Linked DNA regions of Homo sapiens: all the other regions are linked to region 4. The links are contacts of gene promoters, found by promoter capture Hi-C in human tissues and cell types (Jung and others, 2019). All regions are on one chromosome and are shown on one strand. The core of a region is centred on a gene start or on the middle of the fragment in contact, and the rest is flanking DNA. Distances in the headings are between cores, read along the strand shown.

Region 1 (2,700 bases), core at 187-2,686, 140 kb after region 4:
AAGTTTTCTGGTTTCCTTATTTTCACAGGCCTTAGTGATCCTTATTTTTCCAGGCCAATTCACTGATCATTTGATATTCTCTTTTGTTCTCCTTTCTAAAGAAAAATCACTCTGACATCCTACAAGTTGATCAAAGAGGTTCACATCATACTTATCTGTCCAGCAACAGAACAATGGTGACTTTTGTTGTTCAGTCCATAATCCAAGACTCCTCTAGGGTCCTTTTCCTACTCTAGCAAGGCACAGGCAATCACACCTACATCCAGCGCAGGTGTGCTTCATCCTCCCTCCCACAATACATCACTACAGAACCTGGCCCTTCAGAGTTTAAGAAATGAAGAGAGAAAAAAATTATCTTACCTCAATTAAAACATACCATGCCTGGGAATACTGATTCAATGAACATCTATTAACTATCTACTGTTCGTCAGGCACTTAAATTTAAACTAAAATCCAACCACCACACAAAGAGTAACAGCTATCTGACAAAACAGTAATGTGTTAGCCCTGGGAAAGATATACACGAAGACCATTTAAGGAAAAGGAAGTGATAAAGTTGGGAGGTTGCTAACAAGCAATAAAATGAAAACTATTTTTGGCACAAATTTGCAAGCTATAGAAGCATTGAAATCCTATACAGAAGTATTGTTACTGAGTGGCCTGAGGACAGGATAGAGTCCCGAATGTTTCCATTTTAATCCCAGCTTCTTTTCACAGAAATGCTTTGAGAGCAGCTAATTAATATTTGCAAAGTGCTTAGTGATAAGCTCAAAGTAGAATGCTAGTCATAAAAATCAAAAAGCAGGCATATAAAATACAAAAAAAGTCACTAAGTAAACACCCAATTAAAATTCAATCTCTTAAGTAATGTTAACAAAAGTTTGAATTGAACCTTAATATAAAACATTATTCTGAAAAATTACTTAAGATGAAAAACAGCAACTGAAGCTCTTTACAAATTAAATAAAGTCGTGCAACTTACGATATTTACTGTGGATTTCATCTATTTCCTTTTCTGTTTGGTCCTTTGTAAAAACCATTACCTAAAATAATCAAAAAAAGACCTTAATAAAAATCTCCCCAAAATGACAAAAAGGGAAATATTACAAACCTTCAAATCTCAAATGTGAGTGTTTAAAATAGAGGAAAATGATCTCTCATCTGTTTTATATAGACCTAGGAAGAATCATTCCTATGTACTTCCCTTAAATACCAGAAATGGTATACATTTTACTCATTATTTTTTCTCATCAGTAGAAAATGCAACATGATTCAATTATATATTAACAAAATAATAAATTTTCTATTTTCAATATTTAATATCCCACATTCATTAATACAACAGGCAATATTTGAAACCAGAAGACTAACGACACTTAGCTGACTATTAGTAAGGCTGATCTTCTTGTCTGCCTTCTCTCCTTTCCAATCTAACTTCTCCAGGTCATTATAGAAAAGCAGTATGTATAGAAAATGCAATAATACAAAACACAGTAAGTTAAGCCTCTAGGTCCACTTTTTAAACCTCAGACTTAAAAGATCAGAAATCTGCTTCCATGATTCACTGCAGTTCCCATCTTACAGTTAGCACACAGGTAATAATAGGGTCAATGTAAATCCCATTTTTTTCCTACTTATTTGGTTACAAACTTACTTTCTTAAGGTAACCATTGCTTTCTCCTTACAAACACACTACAAATGGCCTAGAAAAAAAAAAAGTCTACTTGGAAGAGACCAAAACACTTTCTCCAGTGTCACAGGACACAATGACTATTTTCTTCACTGGTATCCTGTCTTCAAGTTTGGGGCATCAAGCTAGTGGAAGGCAACAGTGAAGAATTTTAGGTCTCTGATTCCCTCCAAAGCTCAAGAGAATATTCCATCCTCAAATTACTTAATTTATCCTCTTATAATTACTTAACATTTCCATAAGTATAATCATAGAATTGCAGAATGCCAGAGCTAAAAAGGGATCATAGAGGTCCCTAGCAGTAGCTTAGAGGTCCTTAGAGGTAGCTTATCAAACACAACCAGCAGAGAAAGGACCAATATCAAAGCTGCCTGATGCACAGGCACAGGCATTTTCTATAGAACTCTAGCTCATGAACAAACTCTACTTTGGATTGCATTTTGTGCTAGAAGACTGCTAAGTACAATCAAATATTGTCCTAAAATGAGTTGCAAGTAAATCATAATACACTAAGTGGAAATGTGTTAGTAAATGAATAAATTTAATAATGGCTTGCTTTAATTTTTGTAGGGTATTAAACTTTCTTCATTTCTATCCATATACTGAAATAGCCCATTAACATACACTTTCATTGAGTTTACTAGCTTCAAGACGCATCCTAGTCTTCTCTATATTTTCGATTTCTCGAACTATTTCAGCAGCTGTTAAAATAAGAAAATAACCACTAGGTTAATCACATGTCTTTTTTAATCACTGTACAATAATTATTTAAGTTGTTAACATTAGAAGAAGATGGGTGATGGGTATATGTGAACTCCCTGATCTATTTTTACAATTTTTCTGTGAATCAATTACCATTTCAAAACAAAAGGTTAAAAAAATAACATGGAGTTAAAACACTGAACTCTTACACATGCACATGCTGTTCAACGTATAACCACAAGAGTCAAGTCATTTTGCTTTCTCCTTTGAATATACAGGTCTAAACAGAAGTCTCAGTGAAATATGAA
Region 2 (2,700 bases), core at 62-2,561, 190 kb after region 4:
AATCGCAATTTACTAACTCACAGGAACAAAACATACTTACAGTTATGTGAACACTGAGGTATTATCATTGCAATGTTGAAATACTCGAAGCAAATTCCACACCGCAGCAAATCATCTATTGTCTGAAATGCAAATATGCATATATACATATCAGAAAGACATCAAAATTGGAAGTCCTGTCACAAAACTTTTTCTCTATCCCCTAAAAAAAAAATCAAACTCTTTGTCAAATACACAAATTCAAAAGCTAACTCCAGATAAACTGCAAGGGATCTTGACAAATAAATAAAAACTTCTCTCATATGACTCTTATACATTCAGTCTCAGGTTGCCCAAATTGCTTTAGACAGCTAAAGATGATGGCACACCGATTCTTGTGCCATATTGTCATCCCTTCACATAAGGGCTACTGTACTTCTGTTCCACTTCTAATGCGCTTCCAGCTCTTACTCCAAGCCTCCTCCTCTTCAGACTCCAACACCTAGCCTATAGTCACTATTGGGTGAAAGGTGGCCATTGCCACCACACAAGTTAAGAATCAAATCAAAGAATGTTAAAGCCAAACTCCAGAAACTGTCTAGTCAAAAGAGGAAACTGGTATCAAAAGCAGGCACACAATAGTAGGCATCAGTCAAGCCAAGACCAAAATTCCTGTCTCCCGTCTGGCAGTCCAGTGCTTTCGGCATGGTACTACACATGCAGCCAAATGAGGAAGCCTGGAAAGAGCTGGGGCAGTGAAAGCAGAGGAAGGGAAAGTGGACAACTTGGAAAGAGAGATGTGTGCCAACCTGGAATGCAATCCAAACAGGAACGGAACTACTCTGGCAACCTAAAATCTTTCAAATTGTTTAAAATAAAATATTATTCCATTCAACAGAAATATTTTTTAAAAGGAGGAAGCTCTCGACGGGAGGATCGCTTGAGTCCAGGAGGCGTAGGTTGCAGTGAGCCCACATCGCACCACTATACTCCAGCCTGCATGACCGAGTGAAACTGTCTCAAAAAAAAAAAAAAAAAAGAGGAAGCTCTCCATCATACTGATATGAAAAGATTGCCAAGATAAGTGAAAAAAGGAAATAAGGTATAGACAGTACATATACTATGCTACGGTTTGTTTAAAAGGAAGAGGTGAGTAAGAATGTATTCTAATAGGCCTAGCATGGTGGCTCTGTAATCCTAGCACTTTGGGAGGCCAAGGCAGGAGAACTGCTTGAGTCCAGGAGTTTGAGACCAGCCTGGCAAAATAACAAAAATCCATGTCTATAAAAAATTTAAAAATTCGTTGGGAGTAGTGGCGCATGCCTGTAGTCCCAGCTACTCAGGAGGCTGAGGCGGAAGGATTGCTTTAGCCCAGGAGTTCAAGGCTGCAGTGAGCCGTGATTGCCACTGCATTCCAGTCTGGGCGACAGTGAGACCCTATCTCAAAAAAGAAAAAAAGGAAAAAAGAATGCATTCTATTTTCATTGTAAATGTAAATAATGAGAAGATAAACAAGAAGTCATAAATAATGATCAGGGCCAGGAACATGGTAAGAAGGAGACTTTTACTTTTTATTTTATGTGTATTTTGAACCATGTGAACCTATTACCTGAATTTTAAAAATGTAAACAAAAAAGGACTAATGTCGCTAATGGTCCATATGATGAAATATTATGCAGCCATTAAAAAACATGCTTTCAAAGAATAATTAATGCCCTAGGAAAATAAAAATCAGAAAACAAACCTATGCCAATAATACATAATAATAACAACTCTGTAGTTTAATCTTCATAGCAATCTTATGAAGTCCACAGCATCAGTATCCCAATTTTAAAAATAAAGTCTACAGAGTTCCTAAGTTGGCTGGATCAAACCCAAGAAGTTGACTCCACAGTGATCCCAAATTTTAAATGCACAAAAACCAAAGGAAAATAAGGTAAAATGTTAAACACTGGTTCTCTGGGTGGTAGAATTATGGATGGTTTTATTTTTCTCCTTTATCTTATTCTGAATTTTAATTTTTTTCTACCGTGTACACATATTACATTTACAATATGCCAAAAACAGTAAATTTTTGTTAAAGTAAAACCAGGGAAATAATAAAATGCCAAAATCTTCCATTATTGTGGATGGTAAGCTGTCACAGACACAAAAATCTAAAGGGTTATGTTCAAGATCAATTAAGAGCAGAGGCAGGCCCAGAAGCCAGAACCAGTCTATTATATCACACTTTCTTATCTATGCCATCCTCTTCTGGTGGAGGAATGATTCTGAAAGATCTGCAGAGCACAATTGTGGAAGTTGACACTACATCAGATGAGCCATTTCTGGTTCAAATTTCTTGTCATGTCACTCCAAGACAGTAACATGCATATCACATGCGCCTCAACCAACTAAACAAAAAATGATGCCTGAATAGAGAGTGGTCAGCAGACTCCCCAAAATTTCTTTAGTTTAGAGAGAGAGAAAGTGAAAGGGAGAAGTAGAAAATGGGTGGAAAAACGTAATAATTACAAAAATACTCTTAAGTTTTTGGGGTTACAGATCCCTTTGAAAAATGGATGACAACTATGGACTCTCTGCTCAGAAAAACATACATGCAAAAATTTTACAAATAACTTGAGACTCCAAAGTCTTTCTGTGAATCCTAAGTTAGCAACCATGGATTCTGAGTCAGACTTCTATTCAATAAAAGAAGTAACTTCAGTCAGATCTGCTTCT
Region 3 (2,700 bases), core at 51-2,550, 210 kb after region 4:
TTGCTTAGGGCTGTTTGGGTTGAATAGTTTGTCGTTTGCAAACAAAAAATTCCTAAACAGATGTGCAATGGACAATCCAGCAATGGTCTATGCTTTGTGGCTGACAAAATAGTCAAGTTGCTAAAATCTGCCCTTTGTGCCTCTGTGGGTTAGAGACACTGTTCTATTTATCATTGAGTAAAAGTCGATCTTAGAATTCTAGAGTGATCATTTTGTGCAATTAGACTGTATGCAACTTGAGGAAAGGAACTGGGGCTCATCATTCTGTGTCCCCAGCAGCTAACTTGAGGCAAGTTGCATAAAAAGGTGCTAAGGTGCTTCATACACGCTTGTTGAATGAATGAGAGGCTCCTGATTTGAAGCTTTCAAATGTGTACTGTTGCTATGAGCAAGTAAACAGATTATGGAACACATACAAAGTTTAGCCTCTTAGAAGGTTAGTAGTTTGAATGTGTCCCCCAAATTTATGTGTTGGAAACTTAATACCCAATGCAATAATCTTGGGAGAGGGCACCTAATAAGAGGTGACTGGTTCATGAGGGCTCCACCCTCATGAATCAATTAATGTCATTGCCATGGGCATGGGATTGTTATCATGACAGAAGGTTATAAAAGAGTCTGCCCCTCACACTGTCTCTTTTGCCCTTCTGCCTTCCACCATGAGATGGCCCTAGCCAGATGCTAGTGTCATGTTCTTGGACTTTCCAGCCTCCAGAACCATGAGCCAAATAAGCTGTTTTTCTTTATGAATTACCCAGTCTGTTCTATTCTGTTACAGCAACAGAAAATAGACTAAGACATTTTCATAGCAGAGGAGTCTGGAATTCGCAAGAGACCATCATTGAGTGATGAGCATTTTTGGTGGGAATGAGTCACTGAGGCTGCAAGGAGGCCCTTCCATGAAGATCCAGCAGAGGTTTAATCAGAAAGAGAGACTGAAAATCATCACCATTTATTATTTTTCATGGGCAGCCCCACAATCTCCTTTGGGCAACTTGTATTCTTCCCTGATACAAAGTCTTGGTGGGATATAAAGGCCCTGGAGTATTTCTTGACTGCAGCAAGCAGCAAGCTACCTTCATCATGAAATCCTGCCCCTAATCCTGCTGTAATGAGTACAATGCTCAAATCAGAGGCAGTATGACAAACTTATAAAGAGCATGGGTTTGGAGTTAGGCGGACTGAATTCAAATTCTGGCTTCTCTACTTCCTAGCCTAACCTTGGGCAAGCTGTTTAGCCTCTCAGAGCCTCAGTTTCCTCATCTGCAGGACAGAGTATAATAATGATACTTACCTTCAATGGTGTATTGAGAATTAAATGAGAAAATACAGGTAAAGGGTTTAATCTAGTGGCTGGGACAGAAATAAGTGGTCAATAAACAGTTCACAAACACACACAGGTAAAAACAAAAGTCCAAGAGGTTATATGACGTTTGTAGACAATGAACATCAAAATGTTGCATGTGCCTTGATGTATCAGTACCCAGTGGCCTCTGATAATTTATCTTAAACTTTTGAAGACACTTTCTGCAGATGACAGCTACTACTCCCAACTTGCCTTTGCTTTGACATTTCCAAACCCTCTTTCCCCAGCAGTCATCCTACAGTTAGTTACCTTCTTCAGTTAGCTCTACAATGGAAGTGGTCCTCCTTGTAACCTTACCTTCATCTTGTTGGATCTGAGCTAATGGACATTTCAAAGGTGTTTCCTGGGGGAAGCAGGCAGACAGTGTGGACTGGAGGATGGGGACTCCCCCCAGGACCTCTCCACCCCTGATGTGCCACCTCGCCCTTTCAAAAACCACTGGAGCATGTTTGAGAAAAGTTAAGCTGTTTTATTTCACAGGATAGCTCCACGTCAAACCAGCAGGCACCATCAGAATACGCGACAGAGGATCCAATCAGACACTCTATAGGACGGGCGTTTGGTCGTAAGGTAGAGAAACGATATCCAGAAGAGGGCAACATTTATCATCACGTGGGGACAGGCAACCAGCAATTTCCTAGGGTGGTTTTGGTCTGTTTTTCCTGTCACAATTTGGGGAGGAAGGAAACCAAAGGAAACAAAATAGACCAGCCACTCTGAAGCAATCAGAATCAAACCTATTGCCAAACCATGTAAACAGTCACACTGCCGGGAACAAGGGCCTGGGCAGAAACCCTAGCCAGGATCTACTTCCGTCTAAGGAAGGAAAAGTGCACTCTGGTTGTTCTGGTTCAAGGAACAGCTTTGTTATTGGCCGGGGACAACTCACACAGAAAGGAGGTGTCAACAAGGGGCAGCGATGGCCATGTGGCCAGTCCCAGAGGGACAGCAGGACACTGGCAGATCAATCTCAGGGAGGTCAGGAGGGCTTGGACCTGACAGCAAAGTCCCTTCTCTCGGCTCCCCTGGGCAGCTTTGGATATGTGGGGAATGTTCTATGTGGCTGCTCAGAGGAGAGGAGACCCCAGAGAACCGGGGAAGTTGACATGAAATGTCAGCATTAGCTCTGCACAGCAGAAAATCAGCTAGGCAACACCTCGGCTCACCCCTTTCTGCCTTTCCTCCTGGCCGCCACCCCGACTCCCAGCCCAGCAGGGGCTAACCCCATGGTTGTGAGCCAGCCACTCTTCTTTCTGGGTTTCTCAGGAGAGTGAGGCATTTGCACTAGTGTGGAACCATCTGGATGTGTGAAAAGTTAGGAATAGAAAGACTGA
Region 4 (2,700 bases), core at 1-2,500:
CCGCGTTTCTCTTCCGACGCGGGTAGGGCGTGCTTGTCCCATTCCCAGGAACCCAACTCATCTGAAACAACAGGGCACAACCGCCGGCCTCGGGTTGCTCAGCCGCCACCCCAGAAATCCCCGTTGGAGGTACCTCCTCTGAGCCACTGCAAATGAGCGGGAATCCTCTACCGGCCACAAGCCCAGAGCCCCCAGCGTGCCAGTTCCTCGGGATGTTCAGCGGCTTCCACTGGGGGAGAAGGGAGGGTCAAAATCAGCAACGTTCCTCCGGGAGTGGGAATCTAAAACCAAATCACCTCCCCGAGGGAATCTCCAAACTACCTACTCGCCCCAGGCTCCGACCCTCAGCATATCCACCTGCCGCGGGACCCCCAAACCAGCCCCTCTCCTAGTAAACATTAATTCAAGTACTTCCTCCGGAAATCCCCAAATAGCCACTTGCCTGGGAAACCCCAGCTCTGGTCCTTCCCCGTCTAACCCCCTTTTCTAAGACGGTCGGCCGTCACTCCCTGAACTTCCACAGCACCTGCTTCGGTGGAAACCCGGTTCTGCAGTCCCTGCTGGGGGAACCCCTGCCTCAAAGCCCAAGATGCCCAAGCGCTGTTCCCAGACCCTGGCATAGACACCTCCCGCGGGGCTCCTCCCCAGCCCGGCAGCCTCGAAAGTTCTGGAACCCCTGACTTGCGCTTTGGACCCAGATAATCAAGGACTCTGAGTCTCAATCCCGAGAAGTCACTTTACAATCTCTCGGAACACCCCGAGCTCCTCCAGGAACAAGGAGTGCGAGGCACCCCACCACCTCCACTCGGGTCCCGATGGCTCCACCGGCCCTAGCCATCCCGTCCACCCCTGCTTAGCACCCAGCTACCTGCACCGAGTCCGCAGGCGAACCTAAAGTTGACTCCCCCCGGGGAAGTTGCACGGCGACTGACGGCCCCAGTGACGCGTGCGCTCCCGGCCCGAGTTGGGATGGCCTGCCGGCTGCACCTAATGTGATGCTAAGCTGAGGTCTCTCACTGGAGCCTCGGTTGGAATCCCCTCGCCGCAGCCTGGCTGGTCGCTGGATGGGTACAGGAGGCGAGCGAGGAGCGCCTCCCAGGCTGCGCGCGCGGACAGCGTCTGGATGCGGCGCTGTGCGCTGGGGCTGAGGCTGCACTATCGCACGGGTCCGCTAGGGGGCGGGCGAGGCCAGCCGCGCAGACCCCTCCGGAGCGGAGCTGGTTCGCCCAGCGTTGGTCCCAGAGCCTTAACAAATGGGTTTATTTTGCAGTGGTTTAAAACTGCGAGAGGGAGGGAACTCGTCAATAACCCGCCCGTTTCTTCCTTTCTTGGTTTAGAAGCTCTTGACTCCGAGACACATAGGAGGCTTGAATAATAATGTTCTTCCCCGGGTAGATAGTGATGAAGTTACAAAAGCATTTAAACTGATTATTTCCCAAAAATGATGTTAATTTTCAGGCTTTTCTCTCCCCCCACACCTCCAGCTTGATGTAGCGGCTTTAGCAGTGAACTCAAATAAGTCTTTGCTTTGGAATACTTTTGTTCCTATTCCCGTTAATGAGGAATTAGAAATGGCCTCTATTCTAAGCAGTGCTGGGAGAGGCGTTATTTTTTCGGTAGTTTTAGAGGAAATTCTGAAGCACAACACTGTCTTCATTTAAAGTGATTCTGCTTGTCTGCGCCCAAGAGCCGTTTCTGCCTCCTTGTCGCGCTTCGGAATTAAAATTCTAAATGATGCCAAAGGAAGATAAAATGTTAAAGACAGCTTCTCAGCCTCCCTGCCCCTTCTCTATTCTAAAATCATTTTTTGAAGTAATTTACAGTGGCCAAGAATTAAGTCAGAAAAAAAGGCCAGGATTCAAAAATAAACAGGGCTCTTTAAAATGCATTAAATGTGTATTTCCTCCTGACATTTCACTTCTCCGTCTTTTTATTATGTGGAGAGACTTGAGTTAGCCAAGGACTGGGTTTCCTTAATCCACAATTACAGCCCCATGCCGAGATATCCCAGGGGCCAACCTTACAGCACCTGGATCCCAGGGTTCTAGCTGAGTAATCATTCCAGAATGGGGCTGGGAATCTTGACAGCATTGCCAAGGGGTGGCAGGCAGTATTAATCAATATTAGTCAATAGTACCTATCGGCCTCGAAAATTACAGATTAAAGTTACAGACGACTCAGGTGAGAATGAAGTGACCTTGGGCAAGCCCCTTCTCTTTGGGCCTCAGTCTCCTCATATGTAAAATGAGAGCACTGGTCAAGATAGCTAATGTCTGAGGTCCTGTCCCTCTGGTTTTCTGAAACTGTATAATCTGTGCAATCTGAGGGTTCAATCCTAGCAGGTAAAACACCCCTGCCTCACTCCACGGCTGGATGAAGGCAGATTTTTCCCTATGAGCCCCTGACCGGTGAATGTGAGAAGGAAAACACTGGCCTGTAGAACCAAGCCTGCCCTTCTTTCTCCTGGAAGACAGCTGCTTTCTAGGGAGCAAGTTTACTGAGCCACTTCACCAAGGACAGACTCTTCTACCCTTTGTAGGGAAGCCTGCCTACCTGTGTGGTCCTCGCGTAGCCCGTGAGACAGCCTAATTCTGGATTCACCTAACAGGGCTATTTAGTCTCATGCAAAAGGTAAATTCTCTAACTTAGTTTTAATCTAAACAACAACAATAACAACAACAGTAATAGTGTGATCCCCAT

Evidence for each region. Contacts are between HindIII fragments. The study calls those that stand out against the background at their distance.
Region 1: a contact is called between a fragment that was not itself captured here and the fragment with the promoter of OXTR in region 4, in 2 of the 25 tissues and cell types used here (IMR-90 fibroblasts and mesenchymal stem cells).
Region 2: a contact is called between a fragment that was not itself captured here and the fragment with the promoter of OXTR in region 4, in 1 of the 25 tissues and cell types used here (thymus).
Region 3: a fragment that was not itself captured here is called in contact with the fragment with the promoter of OXTR in region 4 in 1 of the 25 tissues and cell types used here (mesenchymal stem cells).

Annotation. Positions count from the first base shown.
Region 1 is chr3:8,911,330-8,914,029 of GRCh38, forward strand. RAD18 (RAD18 E3 ubiquitin protein ligase) reads right to left here. Exons shown (of 13, transcript NM_020165.4): 8 at 2,315-2,391; 9 at 983-1,043. Among named protein-coding and RNA genes, the nearest start is that of RAD18, 51 kb to the right of the region's middle. The HindIII fragment of the contact is 9,414 bases long and covers 1-2,700 here.
Region 2 is chr3:8,958,880-8,961,579 of GRCh38, forward strand. RAD18 (RAD18 E3 ubiquitin protein ligase) reads right to left here. Exons shown (of 13, transcript NM_020165.4): 2 at 41-122. Among named protein-coding and RNA genes, the nearest start is that of RAD18, 3.2 kb to the right of the region's middle. The HindIII fragment of the contact is 4,574 bases long and covers 1-2,700 here.
Region 3 is chr3:8,978,777-8,981,476 of GRCh38, forward strand. It overlaps SRGAP3 (SLIT-ROBO Rho GTPase activating protein 3), which reads right to left. Exons shown (of 22, transcript NM_014850.4): 22 at 1,815-2,700. Among named protein-coding and RNA genes, the nearest start is that of RAD18, 17 kb to the left of the region's middle. The HindIII fragment of the contact is 6,143 bases long and covers 1-2,700 here.
Region 4 is chr3:8,768,363-8,771,062 of GRCh38, forward strand. OXTR (oxytocin receptor) reads right to left here and starts at 1,251. Exons shown (of 4, transcript NM_000916.4): 1 at 869-1,251; 2 at 134-229. RefSeq lists enhancers at 47-718, 1,366-1,415. The HindIII fragment of the contact is 11,538 bases long and covers 1-2,700 here.